Linked DNA regions of Homo sapiens: region 1 is linked to region 2. The links are contacts of gene promoters, found by promoter capture Hi-C in human tissues and cell types (Jung and others, 2019). All regions are on one chromosome and are shown on one strand. Each heading gives the region's core, a stretch centred on a gene start or on the middle of the fragment in contact. The rest is flanking DNA. Distances are from core to core; before and after follow the strand shown. Region 1 has its middle 420 kb from the start of LINC02100. Region 2 holds the start of MYO10 (myosin X).

Region 1 (6,200 bases), core at 2,525-5,024, 1.4 Mb before region 2:
CAAAATAATAAGAGCCATTTATGACAAACCTACAGCCAATATCAGACTGAATGGGCAAAAGCTTGTGCCCATGAAATGGCACAAGACAAGGATGCCCTCTCTCACCACTCCAATTCAACATAGTATTGGAGGTTCTGGCCAGAGCAATCAGGCAAAAGAAAGAAATAAAGGACATCCAAATGGAAAGAGAGGAAGTCAAATTGTCTTTGTTTGAGATTACATGATCCTATATATATCTACAAAACCTCATCATCTCAGCCCAAAAGCTTCTTAAGCTGATAAGCAACTTCAGCAAAGTCTCAGGATACAAAAATCAGTGTGCGAAAACCACAAGCACTCCTACACACCGACAGCAGACAAGCAGAGAGCCAAATCATGAACAAACTCCCATTCACAATTGCTATGAAGACAGGGAAATACCTAGGAATACAGCTAACAAGGGAAATGAAGGACCTCTTCAAGAAGAACTATAAACAACTGGCTAAGGAAATCAGACATGACACAAACAAATGAAAAAACATTCCAAGCTCATGGGTAGGAAAAATCAATATATTGAAAATAGCCATACTGCCCAAAGTAATTTATAGATTCAATGCTATTCCTATTAAGCTACCGTTGACATTCTTCACAGAATTAGAAAAAAATTATTTCAAAATTCATATGGAACTGAAAAAGAGCTCCTATAGCCAAGACAATCATAAGCAAAAAGAATAAAGCTGGAGGAATTATGCTACAAACCATACTACAAAGCTACAGTAACCAAAACAGCTTGGTACTGGTACAAAAACAGACACGTGGAACAATGGAACAGAATAGAGAACTCAGAAATAAGACTGCACATCTAAAACTATCTGATCTTTGACAAACATGACAAAAACAAGCAATGGGGAAAGGATTCCCTGTTTAATAAATGGTGCTGGGAGAACTGGCTAGCTATATGGGGAATACTGAAACTGGACCTTTTCCTTACTACACCTTATACAAAAATTAACTCGAGATGGATTAAAGACTTAAATGTAAAAGCCAAAACTGTAAAAACCCTAGAAGAAAATCTAGGTAATACCATTCAGGAAATAGGCAAAGGCAAAGATTTCATGACGAAATCATCAAAAGCAATTGCAATAAAAGCAAAACTTGACAAATGGGATCTAATTAAACTAAAGAGCTTCTGCACAGCAAAAGAAACTATCATCAGAGTTAACAGACAACCTACAGAGTGAGAGAAAAATTTTGCCATCTATTCATCTGACAAAGTCTAATATCCAGAATACACAGGAACTTAAACAAATTTATAAGGAAAAAACCACCCCATTAAAAAGTGGGCAAAGAACACCAACAAACACTTCTAAAGAGAAGACATTAATGCAGCCAAAAAACATATGAAAAAAAGCTCAACATCACTGATCATTAGAGGAATGCAAATCAAAATCACGGTGAGATACCATCTTGCACCTGTCAGAATAGCAATTATTAAAAAGTCAAGAAACAACAGATGCTGGTGAGGTTGCAGAGAAAGAGGAATTCTTTTACATTGTTAGTGTAAAAATGACTGTGGAAGACATTGTGGAGATTCCTTAAAGATTTAGAACTGGAATACCATTTGACCCAGCAATCTTATTACTGAGTATATACCCAAGGGAATATAAATCATTCTATTATAAAGATACACACACATCTGTGTTCACTGCAGCACTATTTACAATAGCAAAGACATGGAATCAACCCAAATACCCATCAATGATACATTGGATAAAGAAAATGTGGTATATATACACCATGAAGTATTATGCAGCCATAAAAAAAATAATGAGATCATGTCCTTTGCAGGGACATGAATGGACCTAGAAGCTATTATCCTCAGCAAACTAACACAGGAACAGAAAACCAAACACTGCGTGTTCTCACCTATAAGTGGGAGCTGAACAATGTAAACACATGGACACAGAAAGGGGAACAACACACACTGGGGTCTGTGGAGGGGGTGTGGAGGGAGAGCATTAGAAAAAATAGCTAATGCATGTTGGGCTTAATACCTAGGTGATGGTTTGACAGGTACAGCAAACCACCATGGCACACATTTACCTATGTAATAAACCTGCACATCCTGCACATGTACCCTGGAACTTACCATAAAAGTAAAATACAATTTAACAATAACATGCATTTTTTTAATCACAGTGATGATTTCTGAAATGTCCTGTATGAGGCTTGTCTTTGGTTCTGCTCTTTAACGTACTACAATAGTCATCATAATGGTTTAGAGAAAATACTTTCCACTACAACTTATGGCACCTCTTCTCAGGACTCATCTTTCATTTCTTAAGCTTTATTATTTGATGCCATTTCTTATATTTGTCATTCTTTATTACAACATATAATATGTTAGAATCATCTATGAGTTGAGGAGAACTAGGGGAAGTTCCAATTGAGTAGAACATACCATGATCTACTTAACTTACCTATTATTCTTTGGGGTACATGTATTATTTGACTTTCTCTTTTCTTTGGTTGAGTTTCTTTATGCCATATATTAGCAATAGTTACTCAATAGCTTTAATATCCAAATTCTGTGGTGGCAAACTATCTCTGGTACACCCATTTCTTATTCCACCCCCCAAAAGAATAGTTCATTCTTGCACACACACAGTTTTATACACTTGATAGAGTATCAGCGAATCTTTCAACTCTATCATCAGATATGGCTAAAGAAATTAAACCTAAACTCAGTCTACATCTGTATTCACTTTTTTTGGATGCCAGAGTACACAGATTATCCAAGCAACATTCCTCTTAACAACAAGGGGAAGCGACTAAAATGTTAGAGAGTGGGACTCAGGGTTCAGATGGGAAGAGGAGCACAGTTATAGCTACTTAGCACAAACCTAGATTTTTATATTTTATCTTAATAAGAACTGGTTGTGTGGCTTTCTCTTTTAACAAATAGAACCAACTTAAATTTCACAACAGATTATGTACATAGTTTTAATAGTGTTTTTCACATCAGTTAAATTAAAATTGCATACTCCTCTTTGAAGTTCTGATTACTGAGACATGCACAGAATTTTTTCCCCTGGAACTACAGTTATAGAAGATAGAATAGAATAGAGCTTCCTAATAGAAGATATTCCAACCTGCCTATAACAAGCCTTACATTTGACAAATATCTGCTGTTTGATTAAGCTACCATGAGCAAGGATATTTTGTTTAGCATAGTATTTCCTAAGGATTTCAAACCACTGTTGATTAAACTTTAGTATTTAAATAACCTTCAACATTCCTTTCAAATGAGAAGCAATTCTAAAACCTTTTGTAATTTTGCATTTTATAGAATGGAAATGGTAACTTCACGTCACCAAAGAGTGGCAGAAGAGAAAAAAATCTAGACTTTTAAATCTCAAATCCTGCCTTTCTTGCCTTTAAAATATGTCCAATGTGAGAAAGAGATGTGTTTCTCATGGAAGGATGCCAGCAGGGAGCATGTCTTCCTTCAGCAGTAAGAGGTCAGAGTGGTTTATGGTTTTCACAGGCTGAATTCAGATGAGGCAGTTGGTCTGGATTCAGCTTTGTTTCTAAAAGCTCAGAGATGTTTTGTACTTATCCTTTGTTTTCTGCCTCTCTGGTTTCCATGGAAATGCAGGACTCTTGGAAAAAGCAAAGTCATGCACCTCATGCACAGGCAATGTGTGTTATTTCTGGAGTCAACTGAGTAGTGAATATGTCCCAAGATGTCAATGTGAACAGGTCCTGGAAGGGGCAGGAGGGATGCAGAAGGTACCATATCCAATTGTCTTATCATAGACCTTCATGTCCAGATAAGTTACAGGTTATCTGTCCTTCTACAGGAAATACAAGATTTATCTTGGTAAACATTAATCTAGACAGAAAAGAGAAGAAAATATAAGATGGAGAAAAAATTTAAGCAAGATTTTTTTGGCTTTACAAAATGTGTATTAAATATATTCTCAGGAGCTACAGAAATGACCCTTTTACTTAAGCTGGGATTTAAATAAAGGATAAACTTTAGATAAACTTTTCCACCAGAATATATAATTATATAAAGAAATTTCCTTAGTTGGATTAACACCTCTCCTCCTCCACACACCTATTTTCAAGATAAAAATCAAATTTGAATAATAATTTAAGGGAGAAAAAGTGTTTTTAAAAGGAGAAACATAAATAAAAATCTAACAATCATCTTATATAATGGGAAACCAATTTTTCATTTCTCTGCATTACATATGCTGATTCTTGAGGAAGAATTTATTTTAGTACCTTTTTCTCAATTTTTATTTTTGGTTTGTTACAGTTCTCTATCACAACCAATTTTATTACTATCATTAATAGAATTTATTAAATTCCATATAAATTCTTGGCTTTTAAGAGATACTTGGATATAAAATGTTACTTACATAATAATATGATTATTATAGAGTTAAATTAATACCCTTCTTTGTACAAAATAATGTGCAAAGAACTGTGTAAAGTAATTTTTTAAAGTATTCTTTCTCTAAATGTGATTACTATCTGATTTATTTAATAAATCATAAGCATAGGAAATAATAAAGAGCATACAAAGTGCTTTTGGATAAACCAATGAGTATGTACTGAAAAAAAATTATTCTACTGAAGGTTGCCATGTAGAAACTTATATTCAGTAGAACAGATAACCGAATGATTTGGACAAGAAAACCATGCAATTTGGCCCACACACGTAAGACAAAAATACATTTTTACACAAATAACTTTAAAAATTTTGTTTTGTATTTCCAGGGAATGGGAAAGCAAAAGTTGCAAATGAAGAAGAAATAAAGAAAATAATTCAGGCCCCAAGAGAAAGGAAAAAAAGAAAACTTTTATTATGAACTAAAGTTTAGTTTAAACATAATGACAAAATGAGGAAATAAAATTGTAACAAAGAACCAATTTTAATACTTAATTGTTTTAACAAGAGAATAAATAAATATGCCACTGGAGAAGAAACACCACAGTCAGAATTATATAAAATAAGCTTGACATAGTGAAAAGCTATAATGAACATATCCTCATGAAAACTATGGAAAGATTAATACATTTCAGCTAAGAATAGCTTTCAAGATTAGTTTTAAGTATTTTCATCCTTATAATGTACTTAATAAATGCATTCTTGATCCCATATATCAGACAAAAATGCACTTCTTTTTACTATATATATTTAAGCTGTACAACATGATGTTCTGATATACATATGAAGAAAAAATAATTACTACAGTCAAGCAAATTAACCTATTCATCACCTTTTATATTTACCTTTGTGTGTGTGTGTGTGTGTGTGTGTCTGTGTGTAGTAAGAGCACTTAACATCTATTCTTTCTGCAAATTTTCAAAATACAATACAATATTAATAACTATAGCCCTCATGTACTCTTTGATGTACTTCCTTTTTCCTTCCCATTGCTGCCCCTGGTAATTTACTCTTTCTTTCAATGTATCTGACTTAAAGGAATCTAAAAAAGTTGCACCCATAGAAGCAGAAAGTAGAATAGTTGTTTCCAGGTCTGGGGTCATGGGGTGGAGGGCGGTATTGGTCAAAGGATAAAAAAATTCAGTTAGGAGGAATAAGTCCAAGGGATCCAATGAATAACATGGCGATTATAGTTAATAACAGTGGATTGTATTGAAATTTGCTAGGAGTGTAGCTCTTGATTGTTCTGACCACACACACAAAAACAAATATGTGAGGTAAAGTTTGTGTTAGATTTCACCATTCCACAATATATACATATTTTGAAACATGTACACTATTAATATATACAAATTTTATGTGTGAATTAAAAAATCATTTTTAAAAAATGTGCTTGTTTATTTAAAATATAGGACTACATCGCAAGTGTCTAGAAACAGAATAAAAACAATGTTGTGATCCAGAAGTCGGCAGTGTCCATTACTAACCGTGGCTCTTGCAATTCAATATCATGGAGGTTATTTGCGACCAAAGCTGAATAAAGGGATTCTTATGTCTAGGCATCATTGTTTTCTAAGTCCTCTGGTCAGATTTAATGACATAGCAATAATTGGAAAATGTTCCATTCTGTAGGTATTGTTGTTTTGATAATTCAGTAATCAGCTGATGAAACTACTCTTATAAATGTCAACTATTTCCATTCTTACTTTGGGTAAAATGCTTCTGTTTGTACTCCTATGACATCTTCTCCTATATTTCA
Region 2 (6,795 bases), core at 2,124-4,623:
CTAAGGTATGAGAAATAAAAGAAACACTTGTGTAAAAATTTAAATCACATTAAAAAAATTCCCTTTTGTTTGAGAAGGTAAAAACATTTGATGTTTTAAACATCCAAGAGGGTAAGTGAGCCCAAAGGATGGACTGCTGTTTAGTTAAGCATGAAAGGACTTTAGAATTGTCAGTTATTAACTTCTAATTTGTGTGAAAGAAACTTTGAGAACTTTCCCTTTCTATAACTAGTAATTAAGCCATTATTCTAACAGGGGCAATTAAGGGGTGAGTGTTTAATAAAAAAAAAAGATAATGGAAAAGACTCTACGCCCCAAGACACATCAAGACAAGGAATGGCAGCAGCAGCAACAACAAAAGGAACTCAGTTTGAATTCACAAAGGAAATGAGACAACCCGTTTCAACTAAAAACGAACAAACTGTTGGTGGAGAACAAAAACAGAAGATTGTTATTACTTAACTCACAAATATACATATGCAACTCTCTCTTTCAGTGGGGAAATGATCCAATCAGTATTAAAATTTTGTTGATTGTAGATTAATGTATGCCACTAAATAAGATAACTTAACTTGAGCTTTTGGGGGTGTTTTATTTTGAAAATGTCATACTCTGTTAGCCTGGTTTATTTGAAAGACAGGTAGGACAGAGAGTTGAGACAGACCTTTGCCTCATGGAAACACACTCATCCTTCTATTATTACCATTCTTGTGCCTCTGTCGCTTCTCAGAGGGCAGGGTTTAATAGATTTGGTCTAAACTGCTTTGTCCAGTGGTTAGCACAACTCTCTCAGAGGAAGCACTCAAATTTTAAGAAATGGTAATAAGACTAGATATTCTTAGAAATCTATTGATTTAAAATGCTTCCCAGTCTCTGTCCAATCCTGTCAAAGCCCTTATAAATTTAACACGCTGCTTTTTAACAACTGATTCAACCCCAGATACTTGAGGGTTAGATATCTTATTTAGAACATGCATTTTGCTGTTCAGCAAGTAAGAGTTTCGCTGCCACAGCTTATCTTACACCTTTTTGAGAATATGGGGATATATAGAAAAGCTGATGAATTCTGATAAAGTGGCGATTCCCAAGCTCTGAACTGGTTATCGGGGTGCTTATTAAAATGCAAATTCTTTCAATATAATCCACAGGTAAAGAAATAAAAAATGCAAATTCTTAGGAAATCAATTTGCCACAGAGATTTGGAGTCAGTTTTTTTTTCTTTTTAGCAACTGATAAGGTGATCTAGGGATCAACATTGATAAAACATTGATGTAAGTTTTTTTTTTTAACTTTCTTACCCTGTTAACTGATGATGTAAGCTTTTTGAAGAAATAAAATGATTCAGTAAAATCTAAACTTTATATATTGGATCTGGCTCACCATTCTTTACGTGAGTCAAATTGGGGGCAATTATTAACGATATCTTCATAATTGGCAGGAAAATCACCTTTAAAAGATTAGTAGACTTTAAAAAAACAGTTTTAGGCTTACATAAAAATTGGCCAGAAAGTACAGAGAGTGTCCATAGACCCCTCCCAGCCCCTCACCCTCACTTGCCCCTATTATTAACATGTTGCATTAGTGTGGTACATTTGTTATAACTGATGAGCCGATATGGAAAGTGACTTTTGAAATGACATGGCGAGGTTGCCCAACGTATCAGTGGCTGGGCTGATGCTGGGAACCACGTCACACCCACACACTCACTTCAACAATCTCCCTGGTAATTTCTCTGGCAGAGATGTTGTGTGCAGATTAATACCATAATGACTGTAATTGTTCTGCTCCAGTATCTGAACACCAGTGGTTGCAGGACCCATTTGACTAAGCACTGGGATTGTTGGTATTTATCCTGACTCCATCTTCACTTTCCTTGCGACCTTGGACACAAGCTTTAATGGCTCAGCGCCTTAAGCGTGTAAACCTGTGAAACAGAACAACATTGCACAATATCATTAACTAATTTACACCTTGACTCTTTCTAAAGGGAAGTGAGGTGGGAGCAATGATATTAATGGTGAAGAACTGGACTGGGATAAGTTACAAACATGCTTGACTTTCCCCATAAGGATTACAGAAGGATGTTTCATTCATTCATTCATGCTGTGAGACAGCCTGGGGATACTCATCTTAAAGCACAGTCCTTCCCCAACAGTCTTAGGAATAAATCCTAGAGTGGGCATCTAGCCCAGTGGTTACGGGGAGCTTGGGTGGGGTGAGTGGAGTAGCATCTTTGGGAAGGGTTCCTTCCCCTGGAAGGTGTGACTTTGTGAGCTGAGTTTTAAAGGTTGAGTAGCAGTTGGCAAATTCCCTGGAGAGAGCATCTCAAATCTTTTGTGCTGAAGAACCAGCCATTTTTGTTCCCAGTCGGCCAGGTACCAATACACTGCGGCGCCAGGTGTGACTCACCACGTGAGTCTGACAACACCCAAACTGGTTTATACTCGGTTCAAAGAGTCCACTGATCATGTGCTTGGATGTCGTGGCATTATTAAATTGCTACAAACGTTTACTCTTAATTTCTCTACTTGTTACAAGCTTTCGTTCAGCACAGGACCAGGTAGCACCTGAGGGGCACCTGGAAAGCAGATTGTTCCAGCCTGCGTTCTAACAAGGTTCCCAGGTGACCCTCGCACAGCATAAAGTTAAAAGAACTGCCCTAGGGGAAACGGGACTCAGTGCCAGGTGGGTTTGATCATTCGTCCATCTCAGTGCCATCTGCCATCTCTGCTTCCTTGAGGTCTAGAAAAGGGTTACATTTTTAAAGGTGATATTGGCCACGTCCCCTTCCAGTTTCAAAACTACATTTCCCCGCTGTTACGCAAACGTCTTAAGCAAACCCGACTGCAGGACAGAAAGTCAACACGGGAATGCAGCTTCCAGAAATTCTGATTAGCCTCCGTCTTCCGCTTTGATCTGGCCCCGCAGCCCCGGCAGCTCCGCTGACCGCGCTTCCTTCCCGAGATTGCTAGTCTACCGGGCTGCATTAATGAGATCCGTGTTGAGCCGGTTCCCGGGTCTGCTAAACATGAAAGGCACAGAAGCCCCCAGTCCCTTCTCCTCCCCTCTAAGTGATTGTTTAGTCTCTCTCTGCAGAGGGAAGAGTTAAATCCCCTCCCCACGCCTACGTGGGAAGACCTGGGGAAACACGCGGCCCCCTCCCGGGTCCGCTAACGAGCCTGCGGCTGCTTCGGGCTTAGAGTGGGCGGGGCCTGGTCGGGAAGGGGGCGGGGCGCTCCGCCCGGGCGGGGCCAGACGGTGTGGTTGGCGGAGGGCCAAGCTCCTGGGGGCGGGGCCGCGAGCGGGAGGGCGGGGCCGGCTGCGGGAGGGCGGGGCCGGCTGCGGGAGGGCGGGGCGAGGTCGCTGGGCTGTAGTCCCGCGGGCGAGAGCTGGCTGAGCCGCGGCGCGGGACTGCTCACCTCCAAGCGCTCGCGCGGGGATCGCGGCTCCTGCTCACTTTGCGGCCCGCTGTCCTCCTGCCCGCCCCGAGGGCCCCCGGCCGGAGCGCAGAGGGAGGGGGCCGCGCTCGCCAGCACCCCGCCGCCTTCCCCCGCCTGGGGGAAGAATGTGCCACCAGCTGTTCTCCGCTTGCGAGCGCTGCGCCCAGTAGTGAGGAACTTGGAGGAAGAAGAGACAAAGGCTGCCGTCGGGACGGGCGAGTTAGGGACTTGGGTTTGGGCGAACAAAAGGTGAGAAGGACAAGAAGGGACCGGGCGATGGCAGCAGGGGAGCCCCGCGGGCGCGCGTCCTCGGGAGTGGCGCCGTGACACGCATGGTTTCCCCGGACCCGCGGCGGCGCTGACTTCCGCGAGTCGGAGCGGCACTCGGCGAGTCCGGGACTGCGCTGGAACAATGGATAACTTCTTCACCGAGGTAAGTGCGCTCCCAGTCCGACCTGGCCTCCGGAGCCCAGGGAGAGAGGCGTCTGCCCACCACGCCGCGCGCCCTGGGTACTTTTTCCTAAGCCCTGGAAGGCGCAACTTTCTGGGAGTCTCCTGAAATCACCCCCCATCCCCCCGCGGAGTCTCTGATGAGTAAGCCCGGGCAGGTTTTGTTTCGTCCTGTCCCGCGCTCGCATTTTGCTCCGGGAGGTAGCGAAGGTGCGTTTCCGTTTGCGTGGGTGGCTGGCTCTCGGGGCGCCCTGGGACACCCGCGCCAGGTGAGGCGGCGCGCGCCGGGGCGCGGGCGGGGCGATCCGCCCGCTCGACTGCCCGGGTGCAGGAAGCCCAATAAAATGTTCAGCGGGGACCTGCCTTTCTCCAAGAAAGGTCTTGTCTGGTATTTCCTTTGCAAAACGTGCGGGCTTCCTGTGCAGGGGTTCAAACACTTCCAGAGGAGACGGCTTAATGAAGTGTGAGAAGGAGAGGCAAGGGTTTAATCGGTTACTTTGCTCGCCGAGAAGTGCTCTTTTAAGGCTTGGGATAACTCCAGACCCTGGGATCAAATGATCATGTATTTGTGTAGAGTGTCCATGCAGATTTTGAATTCGAATGTAAAGAAAATTCGTTTAGGGCAAACAGTGGCTATTTTAATAGATGAAACGGATGCCCTCTTTAGGGTCGTTGAGGGTGGGACACTGAAACTTAACTTGAGAACCCTTTTTCCCCCTTTGGGATCGAGACTTACTGTGGTTTCTTGGCTCCCTTTCCTTTCTTGGTTGTGTTTATTTAATAAATTCTGTTTAAGTTTGAGGTTTGAAGTGGCTCAAAGTAAACTTAGTTGACTTGAGAGAGTCTGATGTGATTTTCGTTGAAAGCCAGGGAATGTTTTCTGAGTGCAGAACCGCTTTGGAGTCTTCCAGCAAATCAGATTGATGAGGGCTTGCCTCTGTGTTAGCCGACTTGGTTTATCTGATTTAATTGGATATAATATTTCAAGTCATTCTGCTTTCTGCATGCTCACTGACTGTATTCTCAGACAGCTATTCATACTGGCCAAAGTGATAAATGCATTCTTGTTTAGTAGTCATATCTAGTTTTTAAAAGTGGTGTTTCAGATGTGATACCCACATTCATTGTGGAAGGAAGACTAGAAAGGAATTATCCATCAATACATATTTTTCCTTTTCTTAAAAAAAGTGAAATATATATAATTGTGAGACGCTCGCATTTTCTAGTCCATAGACTTTTGTTTTCATGCTTGTCGAAAGGCACCAGAACTTTCTGCAAGAGTTGCACGTTGTCCAGTGGTAAAGGACCCTCGGGCTACAGTGAGTTCCGGTGTTTAATTGCTTGCATCTGTAAGAAAACGGAGGCCCTGCCCCTAGGGCAATGATTCTTAACTTTGTTGTTTTTGTGTTCTGGGTCCCTTAGAAAATCTGATGAAAATATAGAAATTTGTATTCAGTTTGCACGGATCTCACTCCTCCTGTAGCCTGTCTGAGCACCACAGGGGTCCGTGGCTCCCCCTTGGGGAGAACTCTGCCCCCTAGTGCAAGTGGGGGGAACATCAGGATAACGCGCTACAGCGTCCTGATCTCCTGTTACCCGGTGAGACTTTGACTTTTCAAAGTACTCTTTTCATCTTGCACTGGATACCTTAGTTCAGTGTAAGGGGCCTGGTTGTTGGATTTTATTTCTGTGATCAATATTATTTTGCAGTTGGCCATTAGTGATCTTCTACTTTCTCCTCTTCATTTTGTAGACAGAATCTTAACCCAAAGATATGAGTAAGTCCCTTGCCCAGCTTTGAAGAGCTTGTTCACGAATCCAGAGCCTTTTTCCTTTGCTGCTGGTGACTTTGGTATTTCTGGGAACTTTTCGCTTATTTTAAGGTTATACTTTTAATCTTGTGATGTATGTGTATTACAATATTAACTTCTAATCAGCCGTGAAAGTTCCACCCTTAAATCTAATCACTTTGAGTGGGAAGGAAGCAGGGCCAGTCAGAGAGGTTAAATAGTGAGGTATTAATTGTAGACATACTCTTAACATAGATCCCAGCTCCCCTTTCTCTCTCTCATGTCTTGTAATGGAGCATCCTTTTGTTAAATTGTCCAGTGAAGAAAATGCTGTAATTAATGTCCTGTTAGAATAGAAACAGCGAGTGTGGAAGTGATATATTCCCCAAGGACAGCTAAATTGTTTGGCCTCCTTATCACTAAGTAGAATTCTGTCTTTGCTAACTTTTCCCATTGTGGCTTAGGGGTAAATGACTTGTTGCTTGTTGGACAACAGTTTAAAGCCAGTGCTAACAATTGGGGAAAAATTACTGAATGAGATGTTGCCTGTTTAGCTTTGTGTATGAATGGCCAAATAATAAGGAAATGGGAGCTGCTTGTGATTCGCAACTGCTATTTCTAGCTAGACCAGGGTTTCTCAAACCTGGTACCATTGCTGAGTAATTCTTTGTTGTTGGAGGCCGTCCTGTGTGTTGTAGGAGGTTAAACGCATCCCTGGACTCTACTCAGTAATTGTTAACCCTATCCCCCAAGTTGTGACAACCCGAAAGGTCTGCAGACATTGCTGAATGACAGGGGAGCAAAATCACTCCCAGTTGAGATCCACTGAGCTAGACCTGTGAAGCAGTTGTTTGGCGGTATTAATTCCTATTTGTGTTGCAGGCACAGCCTTGTCTGCGCTTCCCTGTTTTAAATAGGATTTGGCCGGGTGCGGTGGCTCAAGCCTGTAATCCCAGCACTTTGGGAGGCTGAGGTGGGAGGACTGCTTGAGCCCAGGAGTTCAAGACCAGCCGGGGCAACATGGTGAAACCTCATCTCTACAAAACTTAGCTGAGTGTGGTGGTATGCACCTGTAGTTCCAGCCATTCTGGAGGCTGAGGTGAGCCCAGGAGGTC

Evidence for each region. Contacts are between HindIII fragments. The study calls those that stand out against the background at their distance.
Region 1: a fragment that was not itself captured here is called in contact with the fragment with the promoter of MYO10 in region 2 in 2 of the 25 tissues and cell types used here (dorsolateral prefrontal cortex and spleen).

What each region holds. Positions count from the first base shown.
Region 1 is chr5:18,326,920-18,333,119 of GRCh38, reverse strand. No RefSeq gene overlaps it. Among named protein-coding and RNA genes, the nearest start is that of LINC02100, 420 kb to the left of the region's middle. The HindIII fragment of the contact is 4,958 bases long and covers 1,296-6,200 here.
Region 2 is chr5:16,932,866-16,939,660 of GRCh38, reverse strand. MYO10 (myosin X) reads left to right here and starts at 3,373. Exons shown (of 41, transcript NM_012334.3): 1 at 3,373-3,873. The coding sequence starts at 3,853. The HindIII fragment of the contact is 7,585 bases long and covers 2,216-6,795 here.